2 separate regions of the Homo sapiens genome follow, and region 1 is linked to region 2. Evidence: promoter capture Hi-C in 16 types of primary human blood cells and fetal thymus (Javierre and others, 2016). All regions are on one chromosome and are shown on one strand. Each heading gives the region's core, a stretch centred on a gene start or on the middle of the fragment in contact. The rest is flanking DNA. Distances are from core to core; before and after follow the strand shown. Region 1 holds the start of AZGP1 (alpha-2-glycoprotein 1, zinc-binding). Region 2 holds the start of PILRB (paired immunoglobin like type 2 receptor beta).

Region 1 (5,286 bases), core at 1,453-3,952, 380 kb after region 2:
TATAATATTGGAATAAATTATAATATTGGAGGATTATTATAATATTATAATATTGGAATAATAAATTTGGAAAAAACTAATGATTAATGATATTGATATATAATCATATCTATGATCTAGATCTAGTATAACTCTTGTTGTTTTATATATTTTATTATACTGGAACAACTCATGCCCTCGGTCTCTTGGCTTGGCACCTGGATGGCTTGCCGCCCACATCTCCCCCCTTTTTATTAACTAGGATCGCCATCGCCATCATTGCTTGTCGTTGACTTCGGATTTGTTTTCGGACTCCTTGGAGGCATCTGCAGGCTAAAAGGAGACAACGTAAGCATACCAATATTAATAATGCCAGTGACAACAATGATCCTCCAAGGGGTTTGATCTATTTAAAGGGATTAAGATCAGATAATTGTTTAGTTATGCCTTCAAAAATGTCTGAGCCAGGAACAGTGGATAAATGAGCTTGTGAATCCTCGAAAATTTGCTCTTTAAGTTTTGAAATATCCAAGGTTAAGTTATCATCCCAGGCTTTTAAATGTCTTGAGACATTTTCCCAGCTATGTTGATATTTATTATAAGCATAAGGCATTATGCAATAATCAGAAGTATTCCAATCACTCTGTAATTGCATACGGTGTTCCAAATTCATATCTCCCAGCCAGATTACACTTTGGCGGAGATCATTAATTTGATTAGCTAATTTTTGATCAATTTGAGCCTGAGAATTCCAAAGTCTGGAGGAGTTTTTCTGCCATGCTTCAATTCAACATATTGAACGGTTTGAACAGAATTGTGGATGGCAACTCCAGCAGTTGCTGCTGTTGCAGTAACCGCAATTAGTCCTGCAATGATGGCAATAAGAGTAAAAATAAATCTCTTTGTTCTTTTGCGGATACCTTTAAGAACTTCATTGACTATGTGAATAGAGGGGGAAGACTCCCATGGACGATGTAAAGAAACTGGTATCCATACCCCCTCCCTAGCCCTTACCAAGAGAGTACTTGTAGTGGGATTAAAAGTAGCATCAATGCACGTGAACAGCTTACAGTTATCACATTCTATAGTTTGTGTATTGGGAATGATAATTATATTTCCAACCAACAGCATGTAAGGGGGTTTGACATAGCTCCTGATGGGTATCACCCGTTCAGATATGAGGGTGATGTTGAATGTGGGTGTTTTGGTATTAGTGTGAAGGAGTTGATAGGTAGTGTTCCATATCCTTATTCCTGTCATAGCTGCAGCTAATTTTCATAGTTGAGGATGTTCTGGGGTAACAAAGGGATGAATCATTTTTGGTCTAGGAGGAGTAATGCCTGCATCCATCCATTTAAATAGGTAAGGGGACACCCATTGTCTCAGCCTGTATGACTGCCATCCATCCTCTACATAATCTAACAAATAATTAAACTCTGAGCATGAGGTATTTTTGCTGGAGCAATCTTGCCAATAATGCCCTTTTGGAGCCCAATCAATAACAATACCTGCGGCTAGACTTTGGAGCACAACGGCCTTAGGAGCATTACAATTATTCCATAAAATTGAAGTCACTATAAAAGGTCCCTTTGTAGGTTTCTTTAACCAAAAGAGAGGCTGGGCACAGTTGCTCACACTAGTAAACCCAGCACTTTGGGAGACCGAGGCGGGCAGATCACGAGGTCAGGAGTTCAAAACCAGCTTGGCCAACATGGTGAAACCCCTGCCTCAGCTTCCTGAGTGCTGGGATTATAGGCATGTGCCACCACGCGCAGCTAATTCTTGTATTTTTTCAGTAGAGACGAGGTTTCATCATGTTGCCCAGGCTGGTCTCGAGTACCTGACCTCAACCTGAGGTGATCCAACCACCTCAGCCTCCCAAAGTGCTGGGATTACAAGCATGAGTCACCGCACCCGGGCCCCAGTCACTTTAGAATAGCATGTTGCTTTGTATTCGGAGGGTCTCTCTGCAAATAGCCCATCAACACTGAGCGTGCCTGGAAAGACCTGGTTTTCAAATAACTGGCTTCGTCTGTGTAAAACGAGTCTTGTTGTATGCATTAAAAATTATCTTGGCTGGGCGTGGTGGCTCACGCCTTTAATCCCAGCATTTTGGGAGGCTCGTTCTGTTGCCAGGGAGGCTGCAAAAGGAGGATGCGGCTATTTCTGCTTCCATCATGGAAGGCTGGGATTCCACAGGCACAGAAAGGAAGGAGGGAGAGATGGGAATGTGACTGTCCTCCAGACACAGCCTCTGGCAGGATCGGATGTGGGAGAGTGAGGGTCCCACCCCAGCTGGGGTCTACCCAGGTCCATGTCTTGGACATGTTGAGAGTTTTTCTGGAAGGCAGGGATACAGTGTGGTCCAAAAACACACAAATGCCCCTACTGGCCCAGGGGTTGTCACAATAGACTGGAAGGGTGACACATCCCAGGCGCTTGCCACCCATCACACGCACCTCCTACCCACTGGCATCCTTCCACCCCAGGCACACACAAAGCCTCAGTCCAGAGATCAACTCTGGACTCAGCTCTGAATTTGCATATCCTGTGTGTAGATTCATTCTTCATAACCTCTGCCCAGCCTAGCTTGTGTATCATTTTTTTTTCTCTATTAGGGGAGGAGCCCGTCCTGGCACTCCCATTGGCCTGTAGATTCACCTCCCCTGGGCAGGGCCCCAGGACCCAGGATAATATCTGTGCCTCCTGCCCAGAACCCTCCAAGCAGACACAATGGTAAGAATGGTGCCTGTCCTGCTGTCTCTGCTGCTGCTTCTGGGTCCTGCTGTCCCCCAGGAGAACCAAGATGGTGAGTGGGGAAAGCAAGGGATGGGTGCTGGAGAGGACTGGAAGGAGGTGAGGAACAGGACATGTGGCTGGGAGACAGGCTGGATGCAGCTGGGATACCCTGGCATACGGCAGGAATGGGTGCCCAAGGCTGTCAACTCCCTCAGCTCACACACTTCCAGGAGCATTCAGGGAGCCTCTGCGCTGGCCCGAAATAAGACCTTCAGGAATCTGAATCTAAAACCCCTAGTTTACAGTGAAAACAAAGACTCCAAAGACCAAGCGACCTGCTTGGGGTAGACAGTCAGGACGGAGTAGGAACCATATGCCTGGAGCTGCTTCTGCTCCTGTTCCTTCCCTCCTTCCGATGGCTGGGTACACCTGCCTGACGCTGAGGGAAAGAGAGAGCAGCCCCAAGGGGAAAGTGGGAAGGCAGGTTGGCTGGAGGGATGGTGCTAGAAGGAAACCCGTGCCCAAATCCCACACTCAGACACCACTGCAGTGGGTCTGGAAGGCGAGTGGCTGGAAGAGAAGAGAGTGGGAGCTCCGGGAGATCAAGAGTCACTCCTAGGATAAGGGAAGGAGGCTGTTTGTGGCATGAGAATGTGCAGGATAAAGACATGGAAGCGAATGGCTTCTCAGTTGTGTGAGTTTAAAATTCATGACATTTACAAATTGTCAGAAAAGGTGTTATATGTTTGTTATATAACAATCACTTTGGAATGTTAATCTGATTCTGTGCCAAAATCTGAATTACTCAGGGTTCTCCAGAGAAACAGAACTAATAGGTGGTACACATATACATATATATGTACGTACACATACATACATACACTGTATACACATGGATACACACACACATAGGAAGAGATTTACATATATGTATACAAAAGAGAGAGAGAGTAGAGATTTATTTTAAGAAATTGACTCACACTATTGGGAGGAGTAACAAGTCCTAAATCTTCAGAGCCGGCCAGCAGGCTGGAGACCCAGGGAAGAGTTGATGTCTTAGTCTTGATTCCAAGGGCAGACTGTAGGCAGAATTCTTTCCTCTTTAGGGGACATCTGAGGCTTTTTCTCTTAAGGCCTTCAACTGATTGGATGAAGCCCACCACTATGGAGAGTAATCCACTTTACTCAAGGTCTACTGATTTTTTTGTAAATTAAAAAAAAAACTGTGGGTGCATAGTATGTGTATATATTTATGGGGTACATGAGAGGTTTTGATTCAGGCATGCAATGTGAAATAATCACATCATCAAAAATGAGGTATCCATCCCTTCAAGCTTTTATCGTTTGTGTTACAGACAATCCAATTATACTTTTTTGGTTATTTTAGTTTTTAAAAGTATTTGATTATTTATTTATTTATTTATTTTTGAGACAGAGTCTCACTCTGTCACCCAGGCAGGAGTGCAGTGGCATGATCTCGGCTCACTGCAACCTCCGCCTCCCAGGTTCAAGCAATTTTCCTGCCTCAGTCTCCTGAGTAGCTAGGACTACAGGCACCTGCCACCACACCTGGCTAATTTTTTTGTATTTTTAGTAGAGACGGGTTTCATCATGTTGGCCAGGCTAGTCTTGATATCCTGACCTCGTGATCTGCCCGCCTTGGTCTCCCAAAGTGCCGGGATTACAGGTGTCAGCAACTGCGCCTGGCCTCTCTTTTGGTTATTTAAAAGTGTACAATTAAATTATGATTATTATTATTATTTTTGAGATGGATTCTTGTTCTGTCACCCAGGCTGGAGTGCAGTGGCGTGATCTTGGCTTACTGCAAACCTCCGCCTGTTGGGTTCAAGCAATTATCTTGCCTCGGGTGTACACTGCCACACACGGCTAACTTATGTATTTTTAATAGAGATAGGGTTTCACCATGTTGGCTAGACTGGTCTTGACCTCTTGACCTCAAGTGATCCACTCACTTCAGCCTCCCAGAGTGCTGGAATTACAGGCACGAGCCACCACACCTGGCCCCAGTTAAATTATTATTGACTATAGTCACCCTGTTGTGCTATCAAATAGTAGGTCTTATTCATTCTTCTTTTTTTTTTTTTTTTTGTGACAGAGTTGCCCAGGCTGGAATGCAGTGGTGCAATCTTGGCTCACTGCAACCTCTGCCTCCCGGGCTTAAGCGATTCTCCTGCCTCAGCCTTCTGAGTCGCTGGGACTACAGGTGTGTGCCACCACGCCCGGCTAATTTATGTATTTTTAGTAGAGATGGGGTTTCACCATGTTGGCCAGGCTGGTTTCGAACTCCTGACCTCAAGTGACCCACCTGCCTCAGCTTCCCAAAGTGTTGGAATTACAGGCATGAGCCACCACACCTGGCCCCAGTTAAATTATTATTCACTGGAGTCACTTTGTTGTGCTATCAAATAGTTTTCTAACTATTTTTTTTGTACCCATTAACCACCCTCCCAATTTCCCCCCAACCCTGCCACTACCCTTCCCAGCCTTTGGTAACCATCCTTCTACTCTCTATGTCCATGAATTCAATTGTAGGGTCTACTGATTTAA
Region 2 (5,195 bases), core at 1,717-4,216:
GCGCCTGTAGTCCCAGCTACTCAGGAGGCTGAGGCAGGAGAATGGCTTGAACCCAGGAGGGGGAGCTTGCAGTGAGCCGAGATTGTGCCACTGCACTCCAGCCTGGGCGACAGAACAAAACTCTGTCTCAAAAACAAAAAACAAAACAAAACAAAAAAACAAATTCCGAACTAAACGAGGCATCGCTCCCCTCCAAACATAGTCTCCTCCTCTATTGTCTACTGTAGTTGGTGGTTTCATCATAGCCCCATGCACCCAAGTGGAAACGGGTGCTTCTTCCTGCTCCCTTGCCCCTACATCAATCTAACAATCTCATTGGTTTTTATTACTTAATCTTTTCTAGGATCTGGCCCTTTCCCTCTCTCCACCTCACTCCTGCACTGCACTGACCCAGCCTGGCCCACCTCTGGCCATTCCTCCATAGACTGAGGTCTCTCATGGGGAACTGAGGTCACCCTTTGCTGCCTCACGCTGCCTCTGGGATCAGAGGCTCTTGGATGTGATTTCTAAGGTCATCTCCTCTTCTCTCCTCTCCTGCCTCCTTCACCAGCACCAAGCTTCCTACAGCTCCTGGAATGGTTTCCTCCACCCACAAGGAAAGTGAGTGACCTCTACACAATCCTCACCTCTTGCCAGGCTAATTCTTTTCTTTTTTGAGACATCTGCAGATGCCACCTCCTGTGGGAAGTCCTCCCTGATTACCTCTCTCTCCTCCCACCCTTGTTTAGCAATACCATAGTTCTTTCTCAATGAAGCAATTAGTCCTTGAGGCAACTGACAACTCCACACCCCCAGTTCCCTGAGAGCAGAGCCTATGCTTTATATACTTTGCTTCTCCAGTTTCAAGCCAGGCCGTGGCAGGAGGGCAGTCAGCCAGTGCCTGCTGAGCTCAGCCCAATTCTGGTCCCTTCTCCTCTCTCTGTTCTTTTCCCAGGGCAGGCCCTCCCCTCCCCAGGAACCTTCAGGGGAGCGTGGATGATTGATGACTGAGAGAGAAGTTGGGGGGATCCAGCTGTGTGGAGAGGGCTGGGGGCTTTTTTTGTTTGTTTGTTTGTTTGTTTGAGACAGAGTCTTGTTCTGTCACCAGGCTGGAGTGCAGTGGCACGACCTTGACTCACTGCAACCTCTGCCTCCCGGGTTCAAGCGATTCTCCTGCCTCAGCCTCCTGAGTAGCTGGGACTATAAGCGTGTGCCACCATGCCCAGCTAATTTTTGTATTTTTAGTAGACATGGGGTGTCACCATGTTGGCCAGGATGGTCTTGATCTCTTGGCCTTGTGATCCACCTGCCTTGGGCTCCCAAAGTGCTGGGATTACAGGCATGAGCCACCGCGCCCAGGCTGGGGGTTCTCACATGTGACCCTGCACCACCCCACTGCAGGAGGCCCCCGAGATGCAGACGCCCCAGCACAGGCCAGAGTCGGCCTTGGTGGGCTTGAGGGGAGCCAGCAGGGTCTGCATATTTCTGAAGTCCCTTAGCTGCAGGTGGGCTCAGAGAAACCCCCAGCTGGGAAGCTTGAGGAGACAGTGCGTTCTGGGCACTTACCTTTCCTTCTCCTCCACCACAGGAGGAGGAGGCACAGCAGTCCCAAAATGACAGTTTTGAGCACAGCGACAGCCAATGCAACCCTGATGGCAGTGTCCAGACTTAGGTGCCATGATTCTGAGTGCCCTTTGCTTTCTGTGACCCTGAGGCCGGCTATGGTGGTTGTGCTGCTGGGCCTCCAGGTGGTGGTGGTTGTGACAGCTGGAAGAGATGAGGAATGAGCAGACCCTCTTCTGGGGGTGTGGGGCGTCTGGATGAAAGGCATGGTGTGCTGCTTTCTAGATTGGGGACATTCAGGATGAGCAAGCTGCTCTCAGAAGCCCAGACATGGAAGGGGTAGCAAGGTGAAATGCTAACAGCTCTCAATCCAGACCACTGGGTTTAAATGTGAAGACATCAGTGGTCACCAAAACCCTCACTGCGGTGGGCAAGGCAGGTGTCAGGGCAGCTGGACTCACCCTGGGTGATGGTGAGTTTGGTCCCCTTGATGGACTGCAACTGCTGCCTCCCTGATCTCCGGGTGTCCAGCTCGACTCGGCAGAAATACACAGACTGGTCCTCCTTCCGCAGGTTTGAGATCCTGAGGAAGCCGCTCTCCTGACCCTCTGTCCAGTTCAGAAAGAGCCGGTTCACATAATCCTTGTGAATGGAAGGCGGCCTTGTGCTGTAGAAGGACTGCCCGTGGAAGTGGCCCCGTCTCCAGGATATTCTCACGTTGGGAACTATGGCTAACTCCCAGGGGTAATAGAAGGAGAAGGGGATTTCCACAGAGCCACCCATGGAGGCTGAGAGGTGTTTTGGTTGAGTGACCCCATAAAGGTAGCTTGGACCAGATCCTGTGGAGCCACCTAGAGGAAGGAGGGAGTGAGTGGGGGAGAGACCTTGAAACCACCTCAGGACACAAAGAGGGTGACCCCAGACCCTCCCACACCTTCACCCACAGGCAGTCGTGTGACAGGTGGCTGGACTGACCTCTGGCCTGGGTCTCCCACTCTTCAGGCATGGGGGAGGGTGGAGGGGGAAGAGATGGCGGCACCCACCCCTATGGGACCCGCCCTTGTTTGCTGGAGGTGGGAGCCTGGCCCCTGCCCCAGATGTTCTGCCTTTGTCTTGGGTTGGCCCCTCCTGTGGTTTGGGCAGAGACCATACCTGGGCGGTCCTGGGTACTCACCAGGCTGCAGAAATGCTGGCGGCTGCAGCAGGAGCAGCAGGGGCAGCAGCAGGGGCCGACCCATGGCCTTGTTCTTCTCCAGGGGACGGGGAGACCAGCAGAGCTGTCCAGGCAGGAGAGGGGCCCTGTGGAGGGGCTGCCTGAGGGCTGAGGTGAGTGGGGAGAGCCAGGGTGAGGCTCCCCAGAGGGCTGTGGGGGCCGGGGACCTTCCCCAAACCAGTACACCTCCAGGGTGACCAGCACTTCCTTTATCCATCTGGCTTCTTATTGCAAAAGGGCCTTAGGTGCCTTTTTATCCCTTGCCTAATTGCTCCGGCCAGGACTTCAAATCCTTTTTTTTTTTTTTTTTTTAGTAGAGATGGGGTTTTGCCATGTTGGCCAGGGTGGTCTCACACTCATAGGCTCAAGTAATCTGCCCGCCTCAGCCTCCAAAAGTGCTGGGATTACAGGCGTGAGCCACTGTGCCCGGCCTGACTTCAAATCCTGTGTTGAATAGAAGTAGTGAGAGCGGGCATCCTTCTCTTGTTCCTGATCTTGGAGGCAAAGATTTCAGTCTTTCATCTAAAATGACTGAAAGACTTTCAGCCATGGGCCTTGCATGACTGGCCTTTATTTTGTTGCAGTACATTCCTTCTCTTCCTGGTTTGTGGAGTGTTTTACCAGGAAAGGGTGTTCAGGCTGGGCACAGTGGCTCAAGTCACACAAAAGTGTCAAGTCAGCCCTGCCCAAGGGCCCCAGTGCCCATCTTCCTGCTGAGGGGCTGGGCCTCACCTTGGCTGGCTGGGCCCCTCCCACCTGGATCCCTGCAGACCCCACCGCACTCAGCCTCACTTCTCATCCCTTTCTCTGTCCAAGGCCAGCGCAGGCTCTTTCAGGGAGAGGAAAGGCGGGCCTGAGTCTGTGCTCTGCTGCACCCCAGATTCAGTCCTCAGAGAGGAGAAGGAGGAAGCCAGTGGAGGTCACAGGCGCTCAGCCCCCAGCCCAAGCACCAGAGCCCCCAGCTTGTCCTCTGTCCCTCTCCCTCCCTGGCAGGGGCTCCCATGCAGTCCCCAGGCACCACCACAGCCCAGCTGGCCTCTTCCCACCCCAGGCCTGCTCCCTTGGTGCAGGGACCACAGTCTTGCTCAAGGGGTGAGGGGGCTGACGGTCCCCTACACAGAGACTGGTCCCTCTCGAGGCCACCCCTTGACCCCCAGACATGAGACTGGATCTGCAGGGTCCCCTCTGACCTCCCTGCCCTACACAGGAGGGGACAGAGCTTGGAGAAGCCCTGTCCCAGGCCACATGACTTGCAGGGCAGTCCCAGGACTGGAGCCCCCTCTACCTGGATCTCTGGGCCTCAACTTCTGAGTTGCAGGAACTCAGGCATAGGGGAGCCCCAGGAGGTTGTTCCCTCATACAGCCCCTCAGGTCATTCCCTCCACACACCTGAGCCTATGGCTGAACCAGGAAGGTTCCTTGGTGCCAGGGCAGCTGGACTCACCCTGGGTGATGGTGAGGTGGGTCCCCTTGATGGACTGCCACGACAGCCTCCCTGATCTGTATGTCCAGCTGGACTTGGCAGAAGTACACAGACTGGTCCTCCTTCCGCAGGTTCGAGATCCTGAGGAAGCCTCCCTGAGGAAGTGAAGGCTCAGAGCAACAGTGGGCACCCCGCACAAAGTCCTGGGCCCGTCTCTAACAGGGGATCTGCAGGTCTTTGCCCGGGGGTGGTCACTGGAGCTTTGGTGACCCACAGGGCTCCCTCCATAGGAGGCTCTGCCCATCCTCTCCAGAGTAAGGTGGCATCAGCTGAGGGGCCGTGGGGACAGGAAGGCAGGATTTCACCAGAGGAAGTGATAACAATCTTCTTGAGACAGAAGCAGGCAGGGACAGGCCTCCCTTCTCTTGTCAGTCTCTTCCCTGGTCCCAGTAGGCTCCTCTGTGCTTCCCAGGGCCAGTCAGGCCGATCCACCCTCCTTCCCTTCACAGGTCTGAGGAAACAGGCTCCCCATGCTCAGGAAACCCCTCCGTCTGAGCCAGGCCCTATACACCTCATTCTCCTTGTTCAACCCACAGGGAAACTGAGGCACCGGGGCTTTGGACTGAACTGGTCCCACCTGCAAAGGTGGGCCGAAAAGAGGACAAGGGACCCCCTGGCTGTTTGGGCAAGGCCTCAAGAGGGTGGCCCACCCTGCCTGAGGACTTTTTGTTTTTTTTTTTTGAGATGGATTCTCGCTGTGTTGCCCAGGCTGGAGTGCAATGGTGTGATCTTGGCTCACGGTAACCTCTGCTTCCTGGGTTCAAGTAATTCTCCTGCCTCAGCCTTCCAAGTAGCTGGGAATTACAGGTGTGTGCCACCACACCCAGCTAATTTTTATATTTTTAGTAGAGACAGGGTTTCACCATGTTGGCCAGGCTGGTCTCAAACTCCTGGCCTCAAGTGATCTGCCCACCTCAGCCTCCCAAAGTGCTGGGATTATAGGCATGGGATACAACA

What was found. The method cuts DNA at HindIII sites, captures the fragments that hold promoters and counts their contacts. A CHiCAGO score of 5 or more calls a contact.
Region 1: a contact is called between the fragment with the promoter of AZGP1 here and the fragment with the promoter of PILRB in region 2, in 5 of 17 cell types (activated CD4 T cells, naive CD8 T cells, total CD4 T cells and 2 more). The highest score is 7.8, in activated CD4 T cells.

Annotation. Positions count from the first base shown.
Region 1 is chr7:99,973,447-99,978,732 of GRCh38, reverse strand. AZGP1 (alpha-2-glycoprotein 1, zinc-binding) reads left to right here and starts at 2,702. Exons shown (of 4, transcript NM_001185.4): 1 at 2,702-2,788. The coding sequence starts at 2,713. The HindIII fragment of the contact is 13,516 bases long and covers 1-4,054 here.
Region 2 is chr7:100,355,888-100,361,082 of GRCh38, reverse strand. It overlaps PILRB (paired immunoglobin like type 2 receptor beta), which reads right to left and starts at 2,966. Exons shown (of 4, transcript NM_178238.4): 1 at 2,717-2,966; 2 at 2,004-2,393; 3 at 1,546-1,746. The coding sequence starts at 2,780. It overlaps STAG3L5P-PVRIG2P-PILRB (STAG3L5P-PVRIG2P-PILRB readthrough), which reads right to left. Exons shown (of 17, transcript NR_036570.1): 13 at 4,200-4,333; 14 at 2,717-2,863; 15 at 2,004-2,184; 16 at 1,546-1,746. MIR6840 (microRNA 6840) reads right to left here and starts at 4,432; the gene lies at 4,362-4,432. The HindIII fragment of the contact is 11,655 bases long and covers 1,517-5,195 here.